Regions from separate parts of the Homo sapiens genome. Here regions 1, 3, 4 and 5 are each linked to region 2. Evidence: promoter capture Hi-C in 16 types of primary human blood cells and fetal thymus (Javierre and others, 2016). All regions are on one chromosome and are shown on one strand. Each heading gives the region's core, a stretch centred on a gene start or on the middle of the fragment in contact. The rest is flanking DNA. Distances are from core to core; before and after follow the strand shown. Region 1 overlaps INTS7 (integrator complex subunit 7). Region 2 holds the start of PACC1 (proton activated chloride channel 1). Region 3 overlaps NSL1 (NSL1 component of MIS12 kinetochore complex). Region 4 overlaps DTL (denticleless E3 ubiquitin protein ligase adapter). Region 5 overlaps DTL (denticleless E3 ubiquitin protein ligase adapter).

Region 1 (4,332 bases), core at 1,373-3,872, 400 kb after region 2:
TTTATTATAAAGTAGACTGTGTTTTCCAAGCTTTACCTTCTGCACCGTTGTTGATTCTGGTGTGAGCCCCAGGGGCGTCCTCAACCACTGCTTTCTTGATCTTGAGGACATTTGAAAATCATCATACCAATATTTACTGATGTGGGAAAAAAAGATTGGGAGCTCTTACTTTTTTTTACTTTGTGTATCTGCTTAACAGCAAAAATGTTGTATTCTTAATGCTTTGCTGAAATGGACTTCTTTATGCAACATTGGAAAATTGATATTTTGATGCTTTAATAATTCAGAAGTTTCCTTCCTGGGCTGTTTGGTACCTGGGAGGTACTTCAAGGTGATTGTTAAAAATTTTGCTTTTTAGATAAGCCATTTTAATTTTTCTGACATATTGAAATATGTAAAAGCGTTTAAAATTTGAGTCATGGATTTCTAAAGTTATGCTTTATTAACTGGAGTTACATAGAATTACCTATAAACTTTAGTTTTGATAATCTGACTTTGCCTTGCCTCTTACTTTTCTGACCTTGACTTTATTTTATGCCCGATCTTCTTGGGTTTCTCTGTTTCTGTAGGATGTTGGGAAGTCTGGCATCAATAATTCCTGAGAGGAAGAATGCTCATCATAGTATTCGTCAGAGTTTAGATTCACATGATAATGTAGAAGTTGAAGCTGCTGTTTTTGCTGCTGCAAACTTCTCTGCACAGTCAAAGTAAGCTTACAAAAGTACATCCCTTTTAGTAATTTGGCTTCCCAAGAAAAATTTTTGAAGGAAAAACTGATCAACTTATATAAACACTGAGAGATACAGGAAAGTGTAAATTACAAGGTGTGTTTTCCAAGAAGGTTTACCTTATGTTGGGGAAACAAGACTTAAATTCATAAAATGGAAAATGTAAGTACAAATGTTGGCATTAATTGTGTAAATGAAATGAGTTTCCAGAAGGACAGGATCAGCATAGATTAGTTGGAGAAGGCTTCATTGGGTAGCAGAAGCTTTGTTGACTGAGGAGCTTCTCCCAGACATATAGATCTGTAATACTAAATTGCTTACTTACTGTCTTCTAATGTTAATTTGTTTTGCATTAGAGCTGTCCACAGTTTGGCAAAGACAATAACTTGAATTAAAACCAATTTTAACCTATTCAGAATGTCATGTCCTACACTGTTGTTTTACAGAACAGTATTTTGTTTTGGGCAGGAGGATTAAATGTTGACCATGGTTTTATTACTATGTTTGATTGGCTTCTCTTCTGTAAAAGAAAATACAGTATCTCCCTGACTGACAGGAAAAGTAGCATTGCCTTCTGGGGTGCATTTTGGTAATATGTATGAAAAGCCTTAAACAAGTACATCCCTTTGACCCAGGAAATTCACTTCTAGAATTTATCCTAAGATAACAGCAATATGTACTGATAATTATTTGTATGGATGCTGGTTGTAGTGTTACTTGTAACAACAAAAGAAATGAGAAGCAACCTAAATTTCTTCCATTGAGCTTAGATAAATTATGATCATACAATAGAATACGGTAACAACTTAAAACCAATGTTTTTAGAAACATATTTGGAAGCAGGTTACATAATAGGTTATGTAATATAACAGGTTTGTTTTAAAAAACCCCAATAGCTTATATAATGTAACAGATTTGTTTAAAAAAAATAAAAGCCGTAATATTTGTATTTATGCAATAGAAAAAAAGACTAGAAGGATATATATCAAAATCTTGGTAAGATGGTATATAATTTTTATTTTCTTTTTATAAATTTCTCTATATCTCTATATCTTGGCATGAGCAAGTTCCAGTTTTATAACCAGGTGAATAATAAATTTTTTGAATCCTGAAAAGTTAACTTTTTTTTTTTTTTTTTTTTTTTTTTTTTTTTTAGTATTTATTGATCATTCTTGGGTGTTTCTCGGAGAGAGGGATTTGGCAGGGTCATAGGACAATAGTGGAGGGAAGGTCAGCAGATAAACATGTGAACAAGGGTCTGTGGTTTTCCTAGGCAGAGGACCCTGCGGCCTTCCTCAGTGTTTGTGTCCCTGGGTACTTGAGATTAGGGAGTGGTGATGACTCTTAACGAGTATGCTGCCTTCAAGCATCTGTTTAACAAAACACATCTTGCACCGCCCTTAATCCATTTAACCCTGAGTGGACATAGCACATGTTTCAGAGAGCAGGGGGTTGGGGGTAAGGTTATAGATTAACAGCATCCCAAGGCAGAAGAATTTTTCTTAGTACAGAACAAAATGGAGTCTCCTATGTCTACTTCTTTCTACACAGACACAGTAACAATCTGATCTTTCTTTCTTTTCCCCACATTTCCCCCTTTTCTATTCGACAAAACCCCCATCGTCGTCATGGCCTGTTCTCAATGAGCTGTTGGGTACACCTCCCAGACGGGGTGGCGGCTGGGCAGAGGGGCTCCTCACTTCCCACACTTCCCGGGCAGGGGCTGCCCCCCACCTCCCTCCCGGACGGGGCGGCTGCCCGGGCGGGGGCCGCCCCCCACCTCCCGGATGGGGCGGCTGCCGGGCGGAGGCGCTCCTCACCTCCCAGATGGGGCGGCTGCCAGGCGGAAGGGCTCCTCACTTCTCAGATGGGGTGGCCGGTTAGAGACGCTCCTCACTTCCCAGACGGGGTGGCGGCCGGGCACAGGCTGCACTTTGGGAGGCCAAGGCAGGCGGCTGGGAGGTGGAGGTTATAGCGAGCGGAGATCACACCACTGCACTCCAGCCTGGGCAAGATTGAGCACTGAGTGAGCGAGACTCCGTCTGCAATCCCGGCACCTCGGGAGGCCCAGGCGGGCAGATCACTCGCGGTCAGGAGCTGGAGACCAGCCCGGCCAACACGGCGAAACCCCGTCTCCACCAAAAAATACAAAAACCAGTCAGGCGTGGCGGCGCACCTGCAATCCCAGGCACTTGGCAGGCTGAGGCAGGAGAATCAGGCAGGGAGGTTGCAGTGAGCCGAGATGGCGGCAGCACAGTCCAGCCTCCGCTCGGCATCAGAGGGAGACCGTGGGGAGAGGGGGAGGGGGAGGGGGAGGGAGAGGATAAATTTTTTTAAAATTTAAAAAATAGTATTTGCATACCCTCCTCTTCAGCTTTTTTTTTTTTTTTTTTTTTTTTGAGATGGAGTTTTGCTCTTGTCATCCAGGCTGGAGTACAGTGGCGCAATCTCGGGTCACAGCAACCTCCATCTCCCAGGTTCAAGTGATTCTTCTGCCTCAGCCTCCGAAGTAGCTGGGATTACAGGCGCCTGCCACCATGCCCAGCTAATTTTTGTATTTTTAGTAAAGATGGGGTTTCAGCACGTTGGCCAGGCTCGTCTTGAACTCCTGACCTCAGGTGATCCACCTGCCTTGGCCTCCCAAAGTGCTGGAATTACAGGCGTGAGCCAGTGTGCCCGGCCCCTTCAGCTATTCTTATCAAACCTTCAGAGTTCCAGGAATTCTTACTGAAAAAGTAGATAATAGAAAGCATATAATTTTTAATTTCACAGATCAAAATTAATAGATGCAGCAGTAATTGATGATCAGAAATACCTGAATAAGTACAGTTCCTATTTGTGCCTTTGAAAATAAGCATTTTTTTCCCTCATTGAGAGAGTCGTTGGTATTGAGAGGACTTTTAAAAATTTCAGTCACACGTCTCTTAACTATGAGGTTACATTCTGAGAAATGCATTGTTAGGAAATTTCATCATTGTGCAAACATTGTAGAGGACTTACACAAATCTAGATGGTATAACCTACTATACACCTAGGTTATATGGTATAGCCTGTTGCCCCAGGCTGTAAACCTGTACAGCATGTTTCTGTACTGAATACTGTAGGCAGTTGGAACACAGTGGTAAGTATATGTATATCTAAACATAGAAAAGGCTCAGTAAAAATATGGCATAAAAGATAAAAATGGTATTCCTGTATAGGGCACTTACCATGAATGGAGCTTGCAGGACTGGAATTTGCTCTGGGTGATCAGTGAGTGAGTGATAAATGAATGTGAAAGCCTAGGACATTACTGTATATTACTGTAGACTTCCTAAACACTGTACACTTAGGCTTCACTAAATTTATTTTTGAAGTTTTTCTTCCTTCAACAATAAATTAACCTTACCTTGCTATAACTTTTTAACTTTGTAAAGTCTTAATTTCTTTTAACTTTTTGACTCTTTTGTAATAACACTTAGCTTAAAATACAAACATACAGCTGTATAAACATACTTTCTTTATATCCTTATTCTATAAGCTTTTTTTGTTAAAATTAAGACATAGCTGGGCACAGTGTCTCACACCTGTAATTCCAGCTATTTGGGAGGCTGAGGCCGGGGTA
Region 2 (3,853 bases), core at 1,011-3,510:
AACCTCTGCCTCCCGGGTTCAAGCGATTCTCCTGCCTCAGCCTCCTGAGTAGGGAGGCTAGGGAGGCTGGGATTATAGGTGCCCGCCACCATGCCTGGTTAATTTTTGTATTTTTAGTAAAGATGAAGTTTTACCATGTTGGCCAGGCTGGTCTCGAACTCCTGACCTCAGGCAATCCGCCCGCCTCGGCCTCCTAAAGAGTTGGGATTACAGGCGTGAGCCACTGGGCCTGGCCTTAAACAATTCTTAAGCAAAAGCCTTATGATTCCAATGTCAGAAATCCTACCTGTAGGAGCAGTGGAGATGCAAATGGTCAGTATCTAGTGCTACATGACTTTTGGCTACAAGGAAGTGGGTCAAATTACAGCCTGATTAATGCTTAATTATAACTCTATTTCTGTGCAGAATTCGTGTTAACCCTGTGAGGATGGCTTCAAAGTGAGGTAGGAGCAAGCCGGGAGTGTGTGGTGTCCTGGAAGCCAGGGAGGAACGCGTATCAAGGAGGAGGGAGGATCAGCCAAGTCCACTGTGGCTGATAAATCAAGAAAGAGGAGGATGGGAAAATGGCCATCTGATGTGACAACACTGAGGTCACTTGTGACCTTGACAAGCACTGTTCCAGTGGAGTGGAGGGGAGTAAAGCCTGACTGGTGTGTGCTCATGAAGGAATGGGAGAGAGGACTTGGGGGCTGCAAGGACAGAACATTATTTACATGTTTATGATCTGTCTCTCCACAGTTGCATGAAAGAGCCACGAAAGCCAGGACCCAAGGGTATCTTATCCATTTCTGTATCCCAGTGCCCAGCACATTGTATTTGTTAAGCCATATTTTATATTTTATTAGCCAGTATCTCCTTCAAATGTGGGAGCCCATAATTTTCCAGTTTGGTCACACCAACAAAGACTAGAGAGGAATGACAGGGTTGGAATAGAATTCTCTGGTTCCTTCCAGCTCTAATATTCTATGATGGTGTGAACTTGTTCTATCAAGTACCATTGTATTAACACAGTAAGGAATTTAATTAGTGGTCTGCTATTGTTAATTTGTTTTGGTAAGCAACTGTTAAATGAAATGGCTGGAATCAGTGTTCCATTCATAAATTTAACAAACATTTGTCGAGTGCCTACAATGTGTTAGGCACTATATATATTGTCCCATATAACAGATTTAAGAGCAGAGGGCCTAGGATAGGGGTGAGTGGTCAGGAGAGGTGATGGGGACCTCCCATTGCTAATGCTCCAGGAGGTCCAGGGTTCTTTGATGTGGCTGGCACTATTCTGCTTATCACTGAGGAGAGAAGAGGCTCCCAGTGGCCTGAGTGGAGGGGTTACCAAGCTGCAGCTGCAAGGGACACAGAGCAGCATTCACCAAGGCACAACAAGCAGCCTCTATCTGCTTCACCACTGAGGAGCCGAGGGCCCTCACACAACAGCTGTTTCAGGCAGTGGGAGGAGAGGAAGATGTGGTCTTCAGGTCCACCCTGCCACAGGGCCAACACCAGATTTGACGCCACATCTAGCGCTTGAGGCTTCTTCTGTGGCTGAACAGCGGCTTTAGGCTTTCTCTGCACGATCCTTCCTTTCTGCTTTCATAGGCCTTGTCAGGCAGGGCAGGGTTTAGCAGTTGCATTCTAAGGCGAGGAGAGGAGGGCTCAGAGCATTGCAAGACCTAAAGGGGAGGGTCAGAGCCAGGACAAGAACCTAGGGGTACTCCTGCCCCTGGAATAATGGAGAGAACATGGGCTCCGCAGTCTACCCCTGGATGAAATAATCTTCATTTGATTACCGCTCCACCCGCATCCTTTCTGAAACAAAGTACCTCAGTTTCCTCATTTGTAAATTAGGGAGAAAAATGTCCTTCTTACAGGGTTCCTTGCAGAATCAACGGCATAATGTGAGTGAGAGCGCTTTGTAACTAACATACAAAGTGCTCTCCAGACATTTATTACCGTTTTAAACCGCCAGGCCAAGCTTCCTCTTGCAATTATAGATTAGGGGCTCCTACTCATCTGACTTTGTTCCACTTTCCACTCCTCTTCTCCGTCCCTCCCCCTCCAACAAAGAGAGGAAGTGAGAGACGCAGAGGCACGCGTCTAAGGACCAGCTTAGCTGGCCCAGGGTCACATGCAGGCCTCCGCCACAGGGGTGAGAGCTGGTGTGAGGGGCGCCCCCGCCCAGAACTACATTTCCCATCAACACTTTCGCGACTCCTGGGCGGCAGCGGCCAGGCGCATGCGCCGAGTATCGCCACGCCTGGTCTCTGGGACGCCCCTCCGGACCGGTTTCGCCTCGCGGAGCCGGTAGGTCCAGGTGCAGCGGCCGCAGTGCTGCGTCCGTGCGCCGCGGGCTGGGGCGGTCTCAGGTGTGCCGAAGCTCTGGTCAGTGCCATGATCCGGCAGGAGCGCTCCACATCCTACCAGGAGGTACGAGGTTGTGAGAGACGGAAGGGAAGTTTGAGGCGGAGGAGCAGGGTCCCGGGGGCCTGGGCGGATGCGGGGCGGGGGGTGTCGGGGCTGCGCGGCAGAGGGCTCTTCCGAGGGACCGACGGGTGCGTCAGGGGAGGGCTCCCGGGGTGCAGAGGAGCGGCCCAGGGGCAGGAAGGAAGCGGGGCAGCGGAGCGGGCGCCCAGCGTTCTCCGTATGCTGCGGGTTGCATGGCCGAGGTCCGGAGTAGGGTCCCCGGCGCCGCGACCCGTAACCAGCAGGTGAATGATTGAAGCTACCTGAGGCCCAGCCTTCCGCGCTCCCCGCCGGAGCGGCAGCCCAATGGCCCAGAGGAACCCGGCGTTCTTTGCAACAAGTGGAGCGCCCGCGCCCTCCTCCCGGCGAGATCTGATGCGCGGTCGGCATCGTCGGCATCCTCCCCCTCCAAGCCCAAGGCCTCGCTGTCCCCGCGGCTGGTGACAGGATTGATTACCTGTTTTTTGGTGACCACCTAACTTTGAAAAAGTGCCTTCATGGACTCTGCTAGTTCTCGCTCCTCTTCGTCTCTCCCTCCAGTCTCACCTCCTCCCACGACTTTATCACTTTCCAGTTCTTTGTCTCTTCTCTGTCCTGCGCTGCAGGCTGTGCGTCCAGCGCTTCCTTCAAGCAAGCCCTGCCTCCTCACTTCTCCAGCTGTATTAGTGAAACTGCTCTCCTCCTCCGCCTCCACTTCTCGGCCCCCAAACCTTGGTCATCTTTGGCAACCGTCCTCTTCTGTGCCCCTCCATCGTGCCGCCTCATTGGCCAAAGTCAGGCAGTTCCAGGTCGGTCCTCCTCCAGTTTGTGTCCCTGTGTTTGCTGTAACCTCTGAGTGCGATACTGTGTTACCATCGCTCCCTTTAGTCTCTTATACTCTCCAGATTTGCCTTGAGGCCCTGCCTTCACCTCGGAGCATTCCTTTTTTCTCAGACCTGACGCTGCCCTTCGTCTGCCCAGAACAGTCCAGACTTCTCAGCAGGCTCCCAAAGCTCTGAACAGCACAGCAGCCATGTCTCCCATTACCTTTGCCACCTCCTAACCCACCTAGGGTCTGGCACAGTGGAAACTCAGTTTTAAAATGTGCTCCTGCCTCTGTGCGTGTGCTCACTCCATTCCTTCATCAACGCTCCGCCAAGCTCCATTGGGTAAAATGCCCCCAGAAGTCAAGGGCTACCTCAAGTTCCATGTGTTCCATAGGGGTCCGCTTTCCAGACCCGTCTGCATTTCTGTCTGTCCTTCTCATAATGAACTTGCTGCCTTCTGTCTTAGTCAATAGTTACTGCTGTACATATCTCCCTTTGTAAAAGACTGATTCACAGAAGGGCTTTGTGGACTATATAAAGCAGGTGGCTTAGCCCTACAGTGGAGGGAGAAGCCAACTTGAAGGCAG
Region 3 (4,256 bases), core at 1,373-3,872, 340 kb before region 2:
ACCTTGGAAACATATTTCAAATCCTGCTGCTTACCAACCAAATCTGTCTCTCCTGCTCTTATCCATGTCACCATATTCGCTTAGGACCACTATAATAGCTTTCTCACTGATTAATATGGTTTGGATGTTTTGTTCCTTCTAAATCTCATGGTTGAAATGGGACCTTCAATGTTGTAGATGGACCTAGTGCAAGGTGTCTGGGTCTTGGGGGCAGATCCCTCATCCGTGGCTTGGTGCCCTCCTTGTGGTAATGAGTGAGCTCTCCCTCTGAATTCACCTGAGAGCTGGTTGTTTTAAAGACTGTGGCACCTCCCCACATCCACATCCTTGCTCCATCTCTTGCCATGGATGTACCGTTCCTCCTTTGGCTTCCATCATGATTGAAAGCTCACTGAGGCCCTACCAGAAGCTGAGCAAATGTTGGTGCTATGCTTGTACAGCCTGCCGAACTGTGAGCCAATTAAACCTCTTTTCTTTATAAATTACCCAGTCTTACATATTCCTTTATAGTAATAAAACAGACTAACACCCTGGTCTCCTTCCATCCAGTTCTACTTTTCACACAGCATCCAAACAATTTCTTTTAAAGCATAATCAGATTATGTCACTCCCTGTTGAAGGCCCTCCAGTGGCTCCCCATTATAATTCCTTTGGTCTAAGAGGCCCTCAATGATATGGTCCCCGGCTGCTTCTCTGATCTCATCTCTGACAGTGTTCACTTACCATCTCACCCTCGCTTACTGTGCTCCACTAACACTAATATTCTTGCTATTTCAGGACATACCAAGAACACACTGGCCCTACGACTTTCATACTCGCAACTCCCTGTATTTGAAACTGCTCTCCGAAACTACCTGCCTGACTCTTGCACTTCATTCAGCTCTCTGTTCAAAGTGTCACTTCATCTGATACACCTTACAACCTGTGTCAGATTCTCTTATGACTCCCTTGATCATACTGTATCCCTTTAACCTGCTTTATTTTTCTCTGCCACTTACAGATATTATATAATTTCTCCTTATTTTCCTCTTCCCTCCCCACAGTATTGTAAGCTCCCTGTGAGCAAGAACTTTGGGATGCCCAGTTTTCCCTCTTTTTTCTTTTCTTTTCTTTTTTTTGAGACGGAGCCTTGCTCTGTCGCCCAGGCTGGAATGCAGTGGCACGCTCTCAGCTCACTGCAACCTCCACCTCCCAGGTTCAAGTGATTCTCCTGCCTCAGCCTCTAGACTAGCTGGGATTACAGGCACCCGCCATCACACCTGGCTAACTTTTGCATATTTAATAGAGACAAGGTTTCACCATATTGGCCAGGCTGGTTTCAAAGTCTTGAACTCGGGTGATCCTCCCACCTCGGCCTCCCAAAGTTCTGGGATTACAGGCATGAGCCACTGCGCCCAGCCCCTGACTCTTAAGATTATTTTCTGACATGGTACACTCAATAAATATTTATATTTTTGCAAACAATACATAATTTTATATAAATAGGATTGAATTACATATTACATTGTCCCTTTTAAAAACCAAAGTCGGCCGGATGCAGTGGCTCACACCTGTAAGCCCAGCACTTTGGGAAGCTGATCGCTTGAGCACAGGAGTTTGAGACCAGCTAGGGCAACATGGCAAAACCCCGTCTCTACAAAAAATACAAAAATTAGCCAAGCATGGTGGTGCATGCCTGTAGTTCCAGCTACTCGGGAAGCTGCAGAGGGAGGATCATTTGAACCCAGGAGGTCAAGGCTGCAGTGAGCTATGGTCCTGCCACTACACTCCAGCCTGAGTGACAGAGTGAGAACCTGTCTCAAAAAAACCCAACAAGGATAGCATTGTATTTTTACTTTTTGTTTTTGGTTTCTTCTCTCTCTTCCTGTCACCCCTTTAGATATCCAACATTAACCTGGTATGAATTCATTTATCCTTTTTTCTGTGCTTATATAATTGTTACAGGAATAAATATGCACTGGACATTTTGGGGGCATAATTTACAGAAAATTTATTCATGTGTTCAAATTATCTGCAATTTCCTAGCTTAAGTTTATGGTAGACATCCTCCATTCGACTGCCGTAGCTCTAACCTTATTGTTTTAAATTGTGGTTATCTTTTAAATTGTATTTCTTGTGCTTTTAATAAATGCAAGCTTAATGTAAAATTTTTAATAATTACATATAGATATATATGAAAATATATACATATTCATATTTATATGAAATATACCATAACTTCGCCTCCCAATCTGTCACATCCCACACATCTTCAAATAGGCAACTATTATCAGTTTGCTGTGTCTAATTTTAGATCTTTATCAATGCATTTGTATGCACATAGGTAGACACAGGGGTTTTTTTAGTTGTTTATATAAATATTACATAATGCATTTTATTCTGTCATTGTTTTTCTTTTTTCACTCAACATGTAACATAGTTCAACTCCATGGTTTTTATTGGTAATTTTTTTCTTGCTTATATACACAGAGACAATTTTATTTAAATAATATTATATATGTATTTTTGTTTTTTGTGAGAGATTATTTGGTTTTGCTAGATTCCTCTTTTCTCCCATCTTCCATTAACATCTCCATATATACTTTTATCTGAGGACTCCTATATTCTAGAAAATCTTTAACCTAATCCTTCAACTTTGCTTCTTTCTCATTTCTTCTATTTTTGTATTTTATGTTTTTATTTTATAACCTATTTTTCTTTTGCAATGTCTTATGATTTTCTTTAGCTATTGGAGCTGTGTAGCATTTTAAAGTCATTTTTATATTGCTCTATTTTCATTTCATCTGCAGTAAATTCCTCTCCCTGACATTGGTTATACTGGCTGTCTTTCATGGTTTTAATTTCTTCATGTATTTTAGACTTTTGATTTGCAAGTGCTTCTTGACTAGAATTTTTCATGTGCATATCTGTCTACCACTGCTTTCACTCCCTCTGTCTAGTAGGTTTGGTTGCCTTCCATCTGGCCCCAAACAATCCCAGGCTGGAGCCATATCTTAACACTGGCAACAGAGGGCCTCTGTCCCAGTGTGACACTGGAGATTGGTCCAGGCCCAGGCTTGGAGGCATTATCTGCTTCCCATCATTTCTGGTTTAGCTTTAAGTAAGCTTTGCTTCCTGGCAGCGGTTAGGAGCAGTTTTGTCTTTTGAGTTGGTTTTTTTTTTTTTTTTGAGACAGAATTTTACTCTTGTTGCCCAGGCTGGAATGTAATGGTTGCTCACTGCAACCTCTGCCTCCTGGGTTCAAGTGATTCTCCTGCCTCATCCTCCTGAGTAGCTGGGATTACAGGTGCCCACCACCACGCCCGGATAATTTTTGTATTTTTAGTAGAGGCGGGGTTTCACCATGTTGGCCAGGCTAGTCTCCAACTCCTGACCTCACGTGATCCACCCATCTCAGCCTCCTTAAGTGCTGGGATTACAGGTGTGAGCCACCGCGCCGGGCTGGTTAGTGGCAGTTTTTTTCAGCCACCTTTTCAGGGTGGGTAAACTCTGTCTCAGCCCTCGGTTTCAAACAGTGAAGCTGTCTCTTCGTTTCCTGTTCTTCTGGAGCACTTCGAACACCTTTTATCTTGCAGGAGGCCAATTCCTGGCTACTTCTGCTTACCGGTAGGCCTGCAGCTTTAGCCTGACTTGCAGCTTTTTCTCTTCTCCTTTTTTTCTGGTTCATTGAAATGTTTTATTTTGTATATGCTTTAGGATATGTCATTTTAATTTTCTATATTCACTGATGCTTTTGGACATAGGAAGGGAGTTTTATGCACTACTGAAATCAACTTGACTAGGAAGTCTTAGGATACTTTTAAAAATGCAAATCAGTTTTCAGTCCTCTGCTTAAAATCCTAAACTCTAGACTTTTAGCATTCCCTTAGGTGATCTGGCCCCTACCTACCTCTCCAGATTTATTTCAGGCACTTTCCTGTTTGCTGCCAGTCTTTCAGTTCTTTGAAAGTGCCTCACTGTCACACATGCATGCCCCCTTGCCCAAGTTTGACATCTTCCCAGTTCTCTTTTCTCATTTAAATGTTACCTCCTCAGAGAGATCTTACCTAACCACCCTCATTAAAATACTCTCCCCAGTTGTTTATCATGACACCTGTTTATTTCCTTAATAGTACTTGTTACAGCTTATAAGTATTTGTGTTTATTTTCTTGTTTATGCTCTCTCACAAAACTGAAAGCTCCATGAGTTTTTTAATATTATATTTACATTATATATAGCCAGCATATAGCAGCATGCCCAATAAATACATCATGAG
Region 4 (3,842 bases), core at 451-2,950, 330 kb after region 2:
TTTATACTGTACCAGGTATTTTAAGTAATCTAGAGATGATAAAAGTATATGGGAAAATGTACATAGGTTATAGGCAAATACTACATCATAGATAATGAATCTGAGCTTCTGTGGACTTTGGTATCTGTTGGGGGTTCCTGGATCCAATCCCCCATGGATCCTGAGGGACAACTGCATACTAAAAGGAACTGAGCTGTATCTTGATTTAACCAAAATCATGACCCTGTGTTAGGAGGATGAGGAGTATGAAGGTTTGATAGTGGTGGGACACAGGAAAGGGAGTTAAATCCTCATGTTACAAAGGAAAGAAGTTAATAAAGCTGAAAATTGCAAAAAATAAATAGAAATGCACAAAACTATTTAGAGGTCTAGACATACATATCAAAGAATCAGCAAAAGGATTTGAAAGAGGTTGCCTCTGGGAAAGGGAAACTATGAGGCAGAGGGTCTGTGGACTGCTATTTATCTTATTCACTGTTGTAGAACTAGCTGACTTATTAAACTGTAATACTAAATTAATGAAAAAAAATTTTTAGGGCTGGGCACGGTGGCTCACGCCTGTAATCCCAGCACTTTGGGAGGCTGAGGCGGGTGGATCACCTGAGGTCAGGAGTTCGAGACCAGCCTGACCAACATGGTGAAACCCCATCTCTACTAAAAATACAAAAATTAGCTGGGCATGGTGGCACACGCCTGTAATTCCAGCTACTCAGGAGGCTGAGGCAGGAGAATTGCTTGAATAAGTGAGCTGAGATCATGCCACTGCACTCCAGGCTCAGCGACAAGAGTGAGACTTTGTCTCAAAAAAAAAAAAAGAAAAGAAAAAAAGAAATTAAAAAAAGCAAAGAGCAAAAACAAATAAGGCAGCACCATCAAAGACTACAGAAACCAGACTTAGAGCAAAAGACTCCTCTGAAGTCTAGTTCTGCATCTTATAAGCAACTAAATAAGTCCTTAGAAAAATGAACCTGTATATTTTCCCTTTCTCACCTTCAATTCCCCATTAACCTTAGGCCTTGATGGCTGAAGTAAAATGAATCTTTAAGCTTAAAACTCAAGCTTAAAGATAAGACAGTTTGAAACAGTCACTGAGAGAATATAAGAGTAAATGGACAGGGAAATATGATTGTTGGCCAGTAAGAGTCAACTTGAGGCTAGCAGTAATTAATTGAAAGTGAGCATTCCACAAGGTTGTGTGTTTACCATGTAAGTACAAGTATACAGCACATCTAATGATACCCTGAGGATCCACACTGTGGGTGGCTCATTGCTTGAAGATTTTTGCTCTTGGTTCATTGTTACTCTCTTCAACATTATCTGTCAATTTATGGTGATTAAAAAATCTATGTACATGATCTTTCCAATACCTTGGTTTCTCAGTTTTTTGACCTCCTTCTTCTATAATCTTGTCCTTTCACTCTCCTAAGCCACTTATTCTTTACCTTATTATTACCAATACCTGGAAATCTTCCATTATCTTAATTTCAATCATCCCACTCATCACCACTTATTTTCCCATCTCCCTTTAGTATTTCAATTCCAACAATCTTTTATCCTCAATCCACTGCTAGTACCACATTTACACTATCCCTTGGCCCCATTATGTCCTTACTTCCCTCCTGATATGGTTTGGCTGTGTCCCCACCTGAATCTCATCTTGAATTCCCATGTGTTGTGGGAGGGACCTGGTGGGAGGTAATTGAATAATGGGGGCAGGTCTTTCCCATGCTGTTCTCGTGACAGCAAATAAGTCTCATGAGATCTGACAATATTATAAGGGGGAGTTTCTCTGCCCAATCTCTCTCTTTGCCTGCCGCCATCCATGTAAAATGTGACTTGCTCCTCCTTGCCTTCTGCCATGATTGTGAGGCCTTTCCAGTCATGTGGAACTGTAAGTCATTAAACCTCTTTCTTTTGTAAATTGCCAAGTCTTGTACATGTCTTTATCAGCAGTGTGAAAATGGACTAATATGCCTCCTTACCAAGGTTATATCTTATAGTCATAATCATCCTCTTTGCATCCACTGTCAACTTCCTTCTTCACTTGCATTGCTAAACCACATCCCTGGTTAAATCTAGCTCTCTACCTATAGTATACTTGTACTTGCATAGCAAACACACAACCATGTGGAGTGCTCACTTTCAATTAATTATTGCTAGCCTCAAGTTGACTCTTGAAGCCCAACAATCATATTTTCCTGTCCATTTATTCCTCTATTCTCTCAGTGACAATTTCAGACTTTCTTATCTCTTCTAAAATCTCTACTCCCTTTCTCCCTTATCCTCATTCGCAGTTAATAACCCTGATTCATGTTTTAACATCAGAACAGAAGGAAGCTTCTGTAAGTTATGGCCATCTCATCTCTCCACCTCTCTCCCCACCATCTCTCAGTAGCCTACCTGCACCATGCTTATATATTCCACCTTTTCTCCAATTACTATGGGTCAACTATCCATGTTCCTGGCAAAGGCCTACCCTCCTACTGTGTATCAGATAGTATCCCCTCATGCTTAACATTGCTCCAGCAAATTCCCCTGCATCAATCTCCCCCTCTCTATACGATCCTGCCAATCACTGTGAAATGTTATATTCCTATTTAAAAAAACCCCAGCAAACTTCAACCCTGCTTCTTTCTCCAGCTACCACTTCACTTCTCTTCTTTCCTTTATAACAAAACTCCTTGAAAGAACTGTCTATACTTGTAGTCCCCAAGTCATATACATGAATGACACCAATCAGGCCACCATCATACCACCAAAACAACACTCATTAAGGTCACCAAATAACCCCTATGATTGCCTAATCCATTGGTCAGTTTTTAGGCCTCACCTTATTTGGTATACCAGAAACATCAAATCAAGTTCATCCCTCTCTCCTCTTATTTACTTGGCTTCCAGGATGTAACACTCTCCCAGTTTTTCTCTTACTTCTCTGGTTGTGGCTGCTCAGTAGGCTTTAATGGTATTTGTCACCTCCTCAACCTCTAAACATCGGGGTACCCCAAGACACCAGGCCTATTTTTTTCTATCTATAGCTATCTTCACCCTGTGTGATAATGAACCTCACATCTGCAACTTCAACCCTGAACTGCAGAATTAAACATCGAAATGCCTCCCTGACATGTCCATTTGGGTGTTTAATAATCATATCAAACAACATGTCCAAATGGAACTCCAGCTGTTCCCTCCCAAACTTGCTCTTCCTGCAGGGATATTTATCTAGGTTAATGACACTCCATCTTTTCAGCTTCTTAAGCAAAATCTCTGAAGTTATCCTTGATAACTCTCCCATATAGCCCCACATCTGATCCCTCAACATATTCTGTTGGCTCTGTCTTGTAAATATATCCAAAATTGGATGACTTCTCACCATAGCTTCTGCTACTACTCTGGTCTAAGTCACCATCATCACTTCCTGGATTATCTCAATGGCTTTTTAAAAGTAGCTTTTTGCTTTTACCCTGACCCCCTTACAATTTATCCTCAACACAGGAGCAAGAATGATCAAGTTAAAAGTCAAATTATGATACTCTTCTGCTCCAAACCCTCTGGTGGACTTTTGTCTATCAAAATAAAAGCCAAAGTCTCACAGAATTTCATTTTCTACTACTATTCCCTCCCTTTCCTTTGCCTGCTGCAGCCCTAGGGGCCAGCCATGCTAGCCTCTCTGAGGAAGAGAAAATATGCCAAGCATGCTCCTGCTTTAGGGCCTGTGTACTTTTATCTGCCTGGAATATTCTTCTTTAAAATATCTATATGGCTTACTACTTCACTTTCTTTACTCAAATGCCATCTTTTCATTGAGGCCCCCCTGGTCACCTAATATAAAATTTTGATAGCAT
Region 5 (3,992 bases), core at 679-3,178, 360 kb after region 2:
TGCTTTTGAGTTCTTGGCCAGCCATAAAATCTTTGCCTAAACCAATATCCTGAAGTGTTTTCCCTATGTTTTCTTCTAGTAGTTCTATTGTTTCAGGTCTTACATTTAAGTCTTTATACTCCATCTTGATTTTTTTTTTTTTTTTTTGAGACTGAGTCTCACTGTGTCAACCAGGGTGGAGTGCAGTGGTGCTATCTTGGCTCATTGCAATTTCTGCCTCCTGTGCTCAAGCGATTCTCATGCCTCAGCCTTCCAAGCAGCTGGGACTACAGGCGCGCCTACCACGTCAAGCTAATTTTTTGTATTTTAGTAGAGGTGGGGTTTTGCCATGTTGCCCAGGCTGGTCTTGAACTCCTGAGCTCAGGCAATCCACCTGCCTTGGCCTCCCAAAGTGCTAGGATTACAGGCATGAGCCCCATGTCTGGCCTATCTTGATTTTCTTTAATATAGTGAGATAGAGGTACAGTTTCATTCTTCTGCATGTGGATACCCAGTTTTCCCAGCACCGTTTATTGTAGGTTCTTGGCACCTTTATTGAAAATCAATTGGCTGTAAATATATGGATTTATTTCTGAATTCTCTATTCTGTTCCATTGGTCTCTGTGTCTGTTTTTATGCCATGCTGTTTTAGTTATTATATTAGCTATATTCTTTTTGCTTAGGATTGCTTTGGCATTTGGGTTCTTTTTGGCTCCACATAAATTTTAAGATTGTTCTTTCTACTTCTGTGAAAAATGATGTTGGTATTTTGATGGGGATTGCACTGAATCTGTAGATTGCTTGGGGTAGTATGGCCATTTTAAAAATAATAATTTTTTCCCATCCATGAGCATGAGGTCTCTTTCCATTTGTCTCCTCTTCAATTTCTTTGATCGGTTTCATACTTTTCCTTATAGAGGTCTTTCACCTCTTTGGCTAAATTTATTCCTAAGTGTTTTATTTTTTTGTAGCTATTGTAAATGGGATTGCCTTCCTGATTTCTCTCTCAGCTAATTCATTATTGATGTATAGAAATGCTATTTTTTTTGTATGTTGATTTTGTATTCTGCAACTTTTAATGAATTTATCAGATCTGAGGTTTTTTTTTTTTTTTTTTTTTTTTGTAGAGTCTTTAAGTTTTTCTAGATATAAGATCATAACATCAGCCAAGGAAAATACAACTTCTTTTCCAGTTTGGATACTTTTTACTTCTTTCTCTGGCCTGATTGCTCTGGGTAGAACTTCCAGTACCATGTTGAATAGGAGTGGTGAAAAGCGTGCGTCCTTGTCTTGTTCCAGTTCTCAAGGGAAAGGCTTCCAGCTTTTTTCGATTCAGTGTGGTGTTAACTGTGAGTCTGTCATATACAGCCTTTTTATGTTGAGATATGTTCCTTCCATGCCTAGTTGGTTGAGTTTTTTAATTCGGAGGAGATGCTGAATTTTATCGAATTATTTTTCTCTATCTACTAAAATGATCATATGGTTTTTGTCCTTCATTCTGTTGATGACGTATGTATCATGTTTATTGATTTGTCTATATTGAGCTATTCTTGCATTCCTGGGATAAATCCCACTTGATCATGGTGTATTTTTTTTTTTTAATGTGCTGTTGAATTCAGTTTGCTAGTATTCTGTTGAGGATTTTTGCATCTATGTCCGTATGTTCTGTAGTTTTTTTGTGTGTGTCCTTGTGCTTGTCTGGTTTTGGTATCAGAATAATGCTGGCCTTGTAGAATGAGTTAGGGAGAATTCCCATCCTTTTCAATTTTTGGAATAGTTTGAGAACTGGTGTTAGTTCTTTAAAAGTTTGGTAGAATTCAGCAGTGAAGCCATCTGGTCCTGAACTTTTCTTTGTTGGAAGACTTTTTATTATTGCTTTGATCTTGTTACTATTGATTTGATCAGGTTTCCTAGTTCTTTCTGATTCAGTCTTGGTAGGTTGCATGTGTCCTGTAATCTATCCATTTCCTCTAGGTTTTCTAGTTAGTGTATAGTTGTACACAATAGTTTCTGATGATCTTTTGTATTTCTGTATTATCAGTTGCAATGTTTCCTTTTTCATTTCTGATTTTATTTAAGACCATCTTTCTTTTTTTTCGTGGTTAGTCTAGCAAGTACCTTATTGATTTTGTTTATCTTTTCCAAAAACCAACCTTTTGTTTTGTTGACCCTTTTTCTTGTTTTTTTAAGTCTCTATTTAGTTAGGCTCTGCTATTTATTATTTCCCTCTATTAATTTGGGGTTTGGTTTGTTCTTGCTTTTCTAGTTCCTTGAGGTACATTGTTAGATTCTTTTAAAGTCTTTCTACTTTTTTGGTATAGGTGTGTATTGCTATAAACTTTCCTCTTAGTACTGCTTTTATTGTATCCCATGGGTTTTGGTATGTTGGGTTTCAATTTTCATTTGTTTCAAGAATTGTAAAAATTTCCTTAATTTCTTCCTTTACCCAAGTCATTCATAATCATACTGCCTAATTTCCACGTATTTGTAGTTTCCAAACTTCCTTTTGTTGTTGATTTCTAGTTTTATTCCATTGTGGTCTGAGAAGATTCCTGATATTATTTCAACTTTTAAAAATGTGTTGAGACTTGTTTTGTGTCTTAACATGTGGTCTAGCTTGGAGAATATTCTGTTTGCTGATGAGAAGAATGTGTATTCTGTAGCTGTTGGATGAAATGTTCTGTAAATATCTCTTAGGTCCATTTGGTCTAATGTGCAGTTTAAATCCAATTTTCTTTCTAGATATCTGTCTAACGCTGAGTGGGGTGGCTGAAGTCCTCAACTGTTATTGCACTGGAGTCTCTCCCTTTAGATCTAATAGTATTGGCTTTATATATCTGTGTGCTCCAGTGTTAGGTATATACATGTTTACAATTGATATATCCTTTGGCTGAACTGATTTATCATCATAGAATAACCTTCGTTTCTTCTTACTGCTTTTGACATAAAGTCTGTTTTATCTGATGTAAGTATAGCTATTCTTGCTTGCTTTTGGTTTCCATTTGCATGTAGTATCTTTTTACATTCCTTTATTTTCAGTTTATACTTGTCTTCACAGGTGAGATGCGTTTCTTGTAGGCAGCATATAATTAGGTCACATTTGTCTATTTGCCCAGTCTGTACTTTTCAAATGGAAAGTTTAACATGTTTACATTCAACGTTATTGATATGTGAAGGCTTATTCCTAACTTTATTGATTGACTTCTGGTTGTTCTGTATATCCTTTGTTCCTTCCTTTCTCTGGTACTTTTTATCATTATGGTTTCATGGTATTCGGTAGTGGTAACATTTCAGCCTTTCCTCTTTCTTGTTTGTGTGTTTGCTTACCAGTAGTTTTTATATTTTCTTGTGTTTTCATGACAGTAAATATTGCTCTTCACTTCCCGGTATAAGACTCCTTTTAGTATTTTCTGTACGGCCCATCTACTGGTGATTAATTTCCTCAGCTTTTGCTTGTTTGGGAAAGACTTTATTTCTCTTTTATTTATGAAGGATAATTTTACTGGGTGTAGTATTCTTGGGTGGCAGGTTTTTTTTTTTTTCTTTAAGCATGTTGAATATATCATCTCATTCTCTCCTGAACTATAAGATTTCTGCTGAGAAATCTGCTGTTAGGTCTGATGGGGTTTCTTTTATAGGTGACTAGATGTTTTTTCTCTGCTTTTAGAATTTTCACTTTGTCTTTGACTTTTGAGTTTGACTACAATGTGCCATGGAAAAAAAACCTTTTTGAATTATATCCATGTGGGGATCTTGGAGCCTCCTGTATGTGGATATATAAATCCCTTGCTAGACTTGGGAAGTTTTCACCTATTATTTTGTTAAATAGGCTTTCTAACCCTTTCATTTTATCTTTGCCTTCTGGGACACTGAAAATTCATATATTTGGCCACTTTATAGTGTCCCATATGCCATGAAAGCTTTAGTCATTCATGTTTATTATTTTTTCTCTATTTTTGTCTGAGTAGGTTATTTTAAAAGATCTTCAAAACATCTTCAAGTTCTGGGATTCT

Evidence for each region. The method cuts DNA at HindIII sites, captures the fragments that hold promoters and counts their contacts. A CHiCAGO score of 5 or more calls a contact.
Region 1: a fragment that was not itself captured here is called in contact with the fragment with the promoter of PACC1 in region 2 in 9 of 17 cell types (fetal thymus, naive CD4 T cells, non-activated CD4 T cells and 6 more); the score reaches 7.2 in fetal thymus.
Region 3: a contact is called between a fragment that was not itself captured here and the fragment with the promoter of PACC1 in region 2, in 1 of 17 cell types (M0 macrophages). The highest score is 5.1, in M0 macrophages.
Region 4: a fragment that was not itself captured here is called in contact with the fragment with the promoter of PACC1 in region 2 in 14 of 17 cell types (fetal thymus, total CD4 T cells, naive CD4 T cells and 11 more); the score reaches 9.7 in fetal thymus.
Region 5: a fragment that was not itself captured here is called in contact with the fragment with the promoter of PACC1 in region 2 in 17 of 17 cell types (megakaryocytes, fetal thymus, endothelial precursors and 14 more); the score reaches 12.2 in megakaryocytes.

What each region holds. Positions count from the first base shown.
Region 1 is chr1:212,013,261-212,017,592 of GRCh38, reverse strand. INTS7 (integrator complex subunit 7) reads left to right here. Exons shown (of 20, transcript NM_015434.4): 4 at 570-707. Among named protein-coding and RNA genes, the nearest start is that of INTS7, 20 kb to the left of the region's middle. The HindIII fragment of the contact is 3,257 bases long and covers 994-4,250 here.
Region 2 is chr1:212,413,293-212,417,145 of GRCh38, reverse strand. It overlaps PACC1 (proton activated chloride channel 1), which reads left to right and starts at 2,260. Exons shown (of 8, transcript NM_018252.3): 1 at 2,260-2,424. The coding sequence starts at 2,389. RefSeq lists a silencer at 2,549-2,608. The HindIII fragment of the contact is 5,506 bases long and covers 1,975-3,853 here.
Region 3 is chr1:212,753,682-212,757,937 of GRCh38, reverse strand. All of the region lies in intron 4 of NSL1 (NSL1 component of MIS12 kinetochore complex), which reads left to right. Among named protein-coding and RNA genes, the nearest start is that of NSL1, 36 kb to the left of the region's middle. The HindIII fragment of the contact is 970 bases long and covers 2,138-3,107 here.
Region 4 is chr1:212,081,180-212,085,021 of GRCh38, reverse strand. The region is part of intron 13 of DTL (denticleless E3 ubiquitin protein ligase adapter); the gene reads right to left. Among named protein-coding and RNA genes, the nearest start is that of MIR3122, 5.5 kb to the right of the region's middle. RefSeq lists a cis regulatory region at 2,728 and an enhancer at 2,644-2,813. The HindIII fragment of the contact is 1,278 bases long and covers 1,062-2,339 here.
Region 5 is chr1:212,056,890-212,060,881 of GRCh38, reverse strand. All of the region lies in intron 5 of DTL (denticleless E3 ubiquitin protein ligase adapter), which reads right to left. Among named protein-coding and RNA genes, the nearest start is that of MIR3122, 19 kb to the left of the region's middle. RefSeq lists a silencer at 2,749-2,949. The HindIII fragment of the contact is 3,947 bases long and covers 1-3,901 here.